Regions from separate parts of the Homo sapiens genome. Here region 1 is linked to region 2. The links are contacts of gene promoters, found by promoter capture Hi-C in blood cells and fetal thymus (Javierre and others, 2016). All regions are on one chromosome and are shown on one strand. Each heading gives the region's core, a stretch centred on a gene start or on the middle of the fragment in contact. The rest is flanking DNA. Distances are from core to core; before and after follow the strand shown. Region 1 has its middle 5.1 kb from the start of CHST6. Region 2 holds the start of GABARAPL2 (GABA type A receptor associated protein like 2).

What was found. The method cuts DNA at HindIII sites, captures the fragments that hold promoters and counts their contacts. A CHiCAGO score of 5 or more calls a contact.
Region 1: a fragment that was not itself captured here is called in contact with the fragment with the promoter of GABARAPL2 in region 2 in 1 of 17 cell types (naive B cells); the score reaches 5.5 in naive B cells.

Annotation. Positions count from the first base shown.
Region 1 is chr16:75,498,285-75,502,880 of GRCh38, reverse strand. It overlaps the pseudogene TMEM231P1. Among named protein-coding and RNA genes, the nearest start is that of CHST6, 5.1 kb to the right of the region's middle. The HindIII fragment of the contact is 6,365 bases long and covers 1-4,596 here.
Region 2 is chr16:75,563,943-75,568,165 of GRCh38, reverse strand. It overlaps GABARAPL2 (GABA type A receptor associated protein like 2), which reads right to left and starts at 1,787. Exons shown (of 4, transcript NM_007285.7): 1 at 1,646-1,787; 2 at 1,259-1,314; 3 at 1-129. The coding sequence starts at 1,679. RefSeq lists an enhancer at 572-1,325 and a silencer at 1,315-1,724. The HindIII fragment of the contact is 5,212 bases long and covers 382-4,223 here.

The DNA of each region.
Region 1 (4,596 bases), core at 1,003-3,502, 66 kb after region 2:
AGATTTTATAAATAGCTTTAAAATCTATGAAACATGGACACTGACCACTTATTTTCATCCCCACAGAAGGAAGGACAGAGTAAATGAACTTAAATTGTTGCAAGAGAGTTTATTCATCTTTGAAGAAAAGATTATTGATACTGCAGTAGGCCACCAAGAACAAGAGGGTGCTCTGTGGGACCAGCCTGGGTGGGCAGAAGGGTAGAAGGAAAAGAGGAGGAGTCTCCCAGGTGCTCACACCACATCCTCCTCCCGTGTCCCAAGTATCTGTGACCAACGGGACCAGCCCCTTTGCCTATGACTACGACCTCACCCATATTGTTGCTGCCTACCAGGAGAGGAACGGTGGGTCACAGGTAGAGCCCATTCAGCCGCTGCTCAGGACTTTCAAGGTTAGTGGGGGCAACAGAGACAAGCAGAACTGGAACCCTTGTGATGAAAATGTCAAAACCCGTGAATGCTCAACGATGGGAGCAAATGTGCTGCCCAGGATTTGTCTTTTTCGTCCTGATCTTCAGACCCGGGACCACCCGCACCCCTCCAGCATCCCGTGGTCCAGCAGGCTAGTGATGGTTAAATGCCATCATTATCCCACCACTGGCTTGGTGGGTTTCTCTTTTAAAAAATATAAGCCTAATTGAGTTGTTCCCCATAGCACACCTATAACAGATGCCAAAGACAAATTGCTGTTCATGCTTTTCAGAGAAAAACAGAGAACGTGGGTGACTCTCCCCACATTAGCAGTCCAGCAGGAGAACAGGAGTGCCCCTGTTTCCTGCCAGAAGGCACAGTGTGCTCATTCCTTACAGAGCTCTAGGCCATGGCATGTGTTCACTCGGCATGTTTGGCTGGTCCGTGGCTGAGGATGTCTGTGAAGGCATCTAGAGTGTTACTTGGCAACCAGACATCATGGAGACTATACACAAACATTTCACAAGGGGGAACGACTGCAAATCCAGTATTGCTTTCTGATTTTATGTCATACATTAGCAGCATTTTTATAATAGTAAAGGGAATTCTAAAACAAAACTAAAAAGCACGGCCCAAGAAATCGATGTTTTTTCTTTACTTTTTTCACTCTTTATTCTTATGTGGATTTTAAAAATATACCTATTATGATAGTGTTGAAACACTTTGGCATCCAAATTATTTGTATTTCCATGTAATAAAAGTATTTCCCCACACTGCTACAAAGTTCTAATTTTTTTTTTTCTTGAAGAGACACAGGGTCTTGCTCTGATGATCAGGCTGGAGTGCAGTGCTGTAATCATAGCTGATTGTAACCTTGAACTCCTGTGGGCTCCGTGATCCTCTCACCTCAGCCTCCTGGGCCGCTAGGACTACAGGCACGTGCCACCATGCCCAGCTAATTTTTTTTTATTTTTTAGTAGAGAGAGGGTCTCAATATGTTAGCCAAGCTGCTCTCAAACTCCTGGCCTCAAGTGACCCTCCCACCTTGGCCTCCCAGATCCTTGGGATTACAAGAATGCGCGACTTTGTCCAGACAAACATATTATTTAGAGTGGCAACATGTTATTCTTTCAGTTAGCCATTCAGCAATTGTAGATGATCACATGACCATTTCCAAGTTTTTGACGTATTTTAATATAAATATCGTATTAGTCCTTTCTCACACAGCTGTAAAGACATACCTGAGACTGGGTAATTTATAAAGAAAAGAGGTTTAACTGACTTAGAGTTCTGCATGGCTGGGTAGGCCTCACAATCATGGCAGAAGGCACCTCTTCACAGGGCGGCAGAAGAGAGAATGAGAGCAGAGCTAAGTAAGCAGATCTGATAAAACCATCAGATCTGGTGAGAACTCACTATCATGAGAATGGCATGGGGAAACTGCCCCCATGATTCAATTATCTCCACCTGGTCCTGCCCTTGATCCGTGGGGATTGTTACAATTCAAGGTGAGATTTGGGTCATAGAGCCAAACCATATCAAATGCTTTTTTGACAAGTATCTTAACAAATTATTTGTTAATCTACTTTGTACATGCAATTTTTAATGCTTTCGAATGATTTCTTTTAGTTCTGAAGTACAGAATATCCCACAGGAATAAAATAATACTTTTATAGCCGAGCGTGGTGGCTCATGCCTATAATCCCAGCACTTTGGGAGGCTGAGGCAAGCAGATCACCTGAGGTCGGGAGTTCAAGACCAGCCTGACCAACATGGAGAAACCCCATCTCTACTAAAAATACAAATTTAGCTGGGCATGGTGGCACCTGCCTGTAATCCCAGCTACTTAGGAAGCTGAGGCAGGACAATTGCTTGAACCCGGGAGGCAGAGGTTGCAGTGAGCCAAGATCACTCCATTGCACTCCAGCCTGGGCAACAAGAGCGAAACTCCATCCCAAAAACAATAATAATATTTTTATAGCCCTAATATATTTTGCCAATAGGCTGCCCCATCATGGATTAATGGTTAATGATTGTATTGCAGTTGCCACCATCCTGAATGACCCCAACTTCATCTGGCTGGTAGGCAGAGCCATGAAACTCCATTTGTGATTAATGTTGTCATCCAGTACCCTGTGGAAACCATATCATATCCTTTCTGTTACAGAGGCAGTGGTAACTCAACTTCCAAAAAGGAAAGATTCCAAAGTTGTCCCCAGCAGAAACACATGTGGGAGCCTTTGATTGGAAATTGCTACAGCACTGTATCTCCACATAAATGACTATGTCTGCTCTTTATACAGGGGGGAAGATCATTTCCTGTTCGTATTTCTTTCTGAGCCATTCTTCTAAGTCAGAATCATCCATATTTATTTTTTAATAATCTTTTATTATTCCTTTCATCTTAAGAGTATTTGAAATATTCTTGCCATATCCTGTCTGGCCTAAACCTTAGTTTACTTTGACTTATACCATGTGGTCCCCAACTCTTTAACTGTCTGTCCTTATCAGCCAGGATTCTGGGCGATGGTAAAGTTCGCCTGGGTGCAGTATGTCAGCATCCTGCTTATCTTCCTCTGGGTGTTTGAAAGAATCAAGATCTTCGTGTTTCAGAATCAGGTGGTGACCACCATCCCTGTGACAGTGATGCCCCAGGGAGAAGTGTGTAAGGAGCACTTATCCTAGAAAGGCCGTTTCTGAAGACTCAGCAGGACCATGGCTGCCTCATTGTCATCTTCTGGGAACGTCTTAGGACCTTTTGAAAGAGCCCAGCGGACACCTGCGGGCTTGTGTGCTTTTCCCTCAGAGACAACGGTTCTTTCCAGTTTTGCTCTACACAGTTCCGTATCTTCAGAGCTCCTGCAGAATTGTCAGGGACTAGTTTGTGGAAAGGTCTGAGAGTTCCTGGAGGCTATAATTAGCTTTTTGGGTTTTTCTTCTTTGCCTTAGCGTTGAATTTCAGGAGAAAATTGCAGTCAGTTCAGACATCTTGGAAAGAGTCCCATCTCTGGTCAAGCAGAGACTTTTCCTCTGTTGAACTGAGGAACACACTGTGCATTTCTTCCTTCTGTTGTGAGCCACTCTTACTCTTTTCAGGGCTCTCTTGTGACAAACATGCCAATCACTAGCACTTTGCACCCCTGGGCTTCTCCATTTCCCATTCACAGCTTTGATTTCCAGAGCTGAGGCCTTTAACTGGAGACCTGGAGGGGCAGGGCCCAAGGGCAAGGGCCGCATTAGCACAGGCAATCAGGGAGGGCCGCTGAAGGACACTTGGACCGTCCACCTGCCCCAGCCCAACAGTCAGTCATCTGTCATCAGCTCAGCTGAGCAGCCCTGGATCCCTGCCCGACTGTGGCTGGCTCTTTGCCCGGTTTTTCCCTCTGTCTGTGCCCCTGGATGGCAGGCTGAAGTCAGAGGGGCTGTTTCATTCTCAGCCCCCTCAGCAGCACTGGGGGAAGAAAGCATTGTCACAACAGGTTCTTTCTGGCCCTCACCCAACAGCCTGGGCACTTGGCCCTCCTCCTCCTTGACAGCCCTCCCCCTTCCTGCAAAGGACAGGGGCGACAGGGGTTGGTGTTGGGATTGGCTCCCGCTGCCTGACAACCACAAGTTTATTTGGAAGGCTAGCGGGAAGCCCAGCGGCTGGCGTTTCCCTTGACTAAGGAAAAGGGTGCCCATCAGAGTGGGGCGGGCAGCTTTGGGAAGGACACAAGAAGCAGTGAGGGTGTAAAGAGGATGCTGGCCTGGGCAGGCCAGTCCAGCCTGGCCACTAGCAGAATACCAAGCAGTCCAGTGGATTATCCTCGTGGCTAAGCAAGTGTCTGCAGGAGCAGAGATGGCTGGAAGGGGCCTCTGCACACGGAAGATGGCTTGTTCAGCCGATTCACCTCCTGAGGATGCGTGCAGTCTCCTCCAAGAACACATGGAGCTGCTTCCTGATCCCAAGCAGGTCGTTGCCCCTGGAAGGACATGGCTCCGGTGATCCATGCTTCATGCCCACCCAGAAACACACCCCTCAGTGTGTGCCTCAGTTTACCTTGGAGATCATTTTTCATCTCCAGCATCCGTTTCCTTTAGGCTGACTAAAAACAGTTTTGGAAACAAAGCTATTTTGAAGTATTCAAGCAGAGGAATTCTCTAACACTGTCCCCCTTGTCTTTTTTTAATATTCTGGCTATTTTA
Region 2 (4,223 bases), core at 538-3,037:
TTCAGAAGGAAGCTGGATCCTTTTCCTGATGATCCACATGAACTGAGCCACAGTGATATCAGATGGAACCAAGTACTTCCGTTTGTCAATGTCAACAATCTGAGAGCCTGAGACCTTTTCCACAATCACCTGGGAAAGTAAAGAGAGGTCAGGACTGTGTTTCCTAAAGCGAGGCTCTGGCCTCACATGGCTGAGGAGCTGATGAACAGAGTGTGGGCAAGGAGGTGGGTGGGGAACTGCATAGCAGGAGAAAATATGTCTTTGGCTTAATAAACCACACGCTCTGGAGGTTAAGAATTGATATAAATGTGTTACAGGGAAACAGTAAGTGCTTTTCTGTGGTCAATTATGTAAGAGAAATGCAGCCCTTACCACTAAGCTTTTCCACATTTTATCTGGGCAGACCTAAGAATATCTGGGGAGGGTTTCATCCATGGCCCGTTACTCCAGGACCCCAGAATGGATCCACCTTCACACTACAGGAAACACTACTGTGTTCCCAAGGAACACAGGAGACAAGAATGGATGGACTAATTGGAATGCCTGGAATTTTAGCCAGCCAAGAACCAAGTTCTTCATTTGGCCTGTTGCTCCTCTCTGAACAAGTTTCAAATCCGTCCCTCCTACTCCTTTCCCCAGACAAATTATTCACAAGCAAAGAGCTACAATAACAGGCCTTAATGTCCATTAAAAATTAATAACGATTACAAAACTATCTCCCCAACCATGGAAGAAATATAACATTATATTTATTATTGACTAAGAAGAAAATATGGCAGAAGGGGTTTTCAGCGGCTTTTCACATTATTTTGGTCAGGCAAGGATGACAGGGTCAAGGTGAGATAACGGAGCTAGAAGTTAGGTAAAGATGGAGACAAAGTAAAAGATGAACGTCCTGAGACTCAAGTACCACTTCCAAGACCAAAATGACAGTCTCCCTCCACCACCATTCCCAAAAGTGGCAGTGACCTGTTGCCCTGTCCTAGAACATCGTTCCTTACATAATTGGCCAGGGAGCCCCGAGGCTGCAGACGGCTCGCTGGCCTAGATCGGGAGATTCAGCACTGAGGCACCCTGAACAGCACCAGCCCGAGCCCCTCACGCCCCGGCCCTGGGCGGCCTCATCCCGGTCTGGCCCGTCAGCTACTGTAACTGGGACTGGAACCTCAACTTGTCAACTGTTGAATGGCCTGGGGCCTATCACGGGTCCCAGACGACAGAGGTGACAGCGAGGTGAGGGGGCGGAGAGTCCACTCACCGGAACCCTGTCGGGATATTTCGCTCGAATCTTCGCGGACTCCACGCATCTGTGTTCTGTGGGAGAAACAAACGGGGCTGACGGCCGCGCCTGCCCACCGGTCGGTTCCCGGCCCCCGGCCCTCCTCCTCCTGCGCCCTGCGTACAACCCAGGCCCTGGTTCCGGCGTCCCCGGGGCCGCGGTCCTGTCCCCTACTAGCTCCCAGCAAGGCCCGCGGAGGGTGACATGGGGTCAGGGGGCCGCTGCCCGAGGCACCAGGGCATGGGCGACTCCAGCCCGCAGCAGGGCATCCGCCCCGCTCCACTCGGCCCAGGGCCGCCCGAGTGGGGGAGGGGGCCCACCCGCCGCCCCAGCCCCCAGCAGCCGGGCCGACGACCAAGTGCTTACCCAGCGAGTGGTCCTCCTTGAACATCCACTTCATGGCGGCGGCGGGAAGGGGACGGAACCGGCTCGCGGAGCCGCGGAGCTCAGCGCACCGAGCACAACAACAACGACGGCGGCAGCGGCAGCGGCAGCGACGGCGGCGACTACACGGCAGGCGGGACTTCCGGCTGTCGGAGCCTAGCAACCGGCCGGGGGCGGGGCTTCCGGCGCCATTTGTCAGGGCGCCACGCCAAGGGGCGGGGCCGCACGTAAAGGGGCGGGGCCGCGGAGGACCCCTTTGGGGGCTCCTGGGCTGCGGTGGCGAAGAAGTTGGTTATGGGGACGTCTGTGAGCAGTATCTGCGACATTGCTCGCAGGAATGTTCGGGGAACTGGTGACAGGAGTGGGGTCTCGGGAGCGTTGGTGGCGGAAAACGTCTGGCTGATAGTGTAGGGCTCTTACTGAGGGCTGTTTGGGGGTGTGGCTGATAGCTGAGGGCTCTTAGAGCGGTTCATAGGGGAAGTCTGGGGAATTGGTGACAAGAACGGTCTTTAGGGGTAAGAATGACATAAGGAGGGCTTTCTAGAGCTTGGCGATAACAAGGGAGCTGTTTAGGGCGTTGACAGTTTGGGGAGTATTGCTCGGAGTGGTGACAGGTTGGGGGCTCATTATGGGAGGGGAGGGTGTTTGAGGACACTGTTGGAAGCGGCACTGAGGACAACCCGGAGGTCCGTATTAGGGACAGCCGTAGTAGGTTGTCTTGGACCTAGAAATTGAATTTAAACAAATCCCGTTTTCTTCCTTTATTCGTGAATAAATATTTGAATAAACATTTACGAAAAGGTATCACAAATGCACATTTGAGGCGGGGTACGGTGGCTCACGCCTGTAATCCCAACACTTTGGGAGGCCGACGCGGGTGGATCACCTGAGGTCAGGAGTTGAAGACCAGCCTGGCCAACATGGTGAAACCCCGTCTCTACTAAAAATACAAAAATTAGCCAGGCATGGTAGTGGGCGCCTGTAGTCCCAGCTCCTCGGGAGGCTGAGGCAGGAGAATCGTTTGAACCAGGGAGGTGGAGGTGGCAGTGAGCCGAGATCACACCACTGCACTCCAGCCTGGGCAACAGAGCAAGACTCCGCCTCAAAAAAAAATGCACATTTGAGGAGTGTAACATCACTGATCACAGACCCCTTAATTTTAACTGGCAGAGGAGTTAGAGGTGACTGTCAGACTCGGAGAATTCCCCTGAGAGCTGGTCATGAGATGGGTTTCCTTATTTGGCTGTGGGAGTGGTTTAGCAATCACAGCCTGAGCTGTGTGTGTGTCACCTGCCCGGACATATGCTTTGAGGTTCTCCAATCAGTGATGTAATGCCTTTTTTCCAAGCAGACTCATCAAGGCAGTCTGGTCTGGGTCACCATCTGTTTATAAGCTGCTGAACATGTAGCAGGAATATTCACTTAATTGGGCACATGAACCCTGCCACGTGCTTGTGATTCTGATGCACCTGTAAAGCCTGTATGTTTGAATGTGGTAGTTCATCATTTCCTACACTGGAAATTCCTGATCGATGCTGTGGAATCTAGCTTCATTCTATAAGTATTTTTGTTATTTTAAGACTGTGTGTCTGAGTAACTAGAATAGGTTTTTTTGTTTCTTTGTTTTTGTTTTTGTTTTTTGGAGACAGGGTCTTTCTCTGTCACCCAGGCTGGAGTTCAGTGGCACAATCTTGGCTTACTGCAGTCTGCCTCCTGGGTTCAAGCGATTCTGCTGCCTCAGCCTCCTGAGTAGCTGGGACTACAGGGACACACCACCACACCCAGCTAATTTTTGTATTTTTGGTAGAGATGGGGTTTTGTCATGTTCGCCAGGCTGGTCTTGAACTTCTCACCTCAAGTAAGTGATTTGCCCGCCTCGGCCTCCCAAAGTGCTAGGATTACAGGTGTGAGCCACTGCATCTGTTTGTTTGTTTTTAATGAAGTGGAAAAAATCCTTTGAATTTCCTACTTAGAAATTATTGTTACATACAAGAGCTCTGTGCTAGGTGCTGGGGAAAAACAGTGAAGAAGACAGATGACATCCCTATTCTCATGGGTGGCAGCATGAGATATTCTTGTCCCCCTGACATATTCTAGTGGGATAAGACAAAAAATAAGTATGTTAGGTAATGATAGGTGCTATTTCGAAAAATAAAGCACAGTAGGTGACTAGAGAGTGTGGTGGGATGGAATGCTAATTAGATAAAGTGCCTGGCATATTCTAGGGAACCCCTGTGGCTGGAGCTGAATAAATGAGAGAGGAGAGTGTGTTATGAGACAAATTCAAAGATATCTAGAACAAAACTGTGTTGAGCTTTGAATTCCATGCAAAGAGCTTTGGATTTTATTTAGAATGAGATGAGAAGTCAGTGTAGGGGTTTAAGCAGAGACGTAACACAATCTGCCTTTCCTTTTCAAAAGGCTAGCTTAGTAGACTGTAGGCGCTGAGGGTGGAAGCAGGGAAATAGTTGAGACACTATTGTGATAATCCTGGTGAAAGATGATGTTGGCTTTGGCCAAGGTGGGGTCTACAGAGGTGATGGGAAGCAGTTGTATTCTG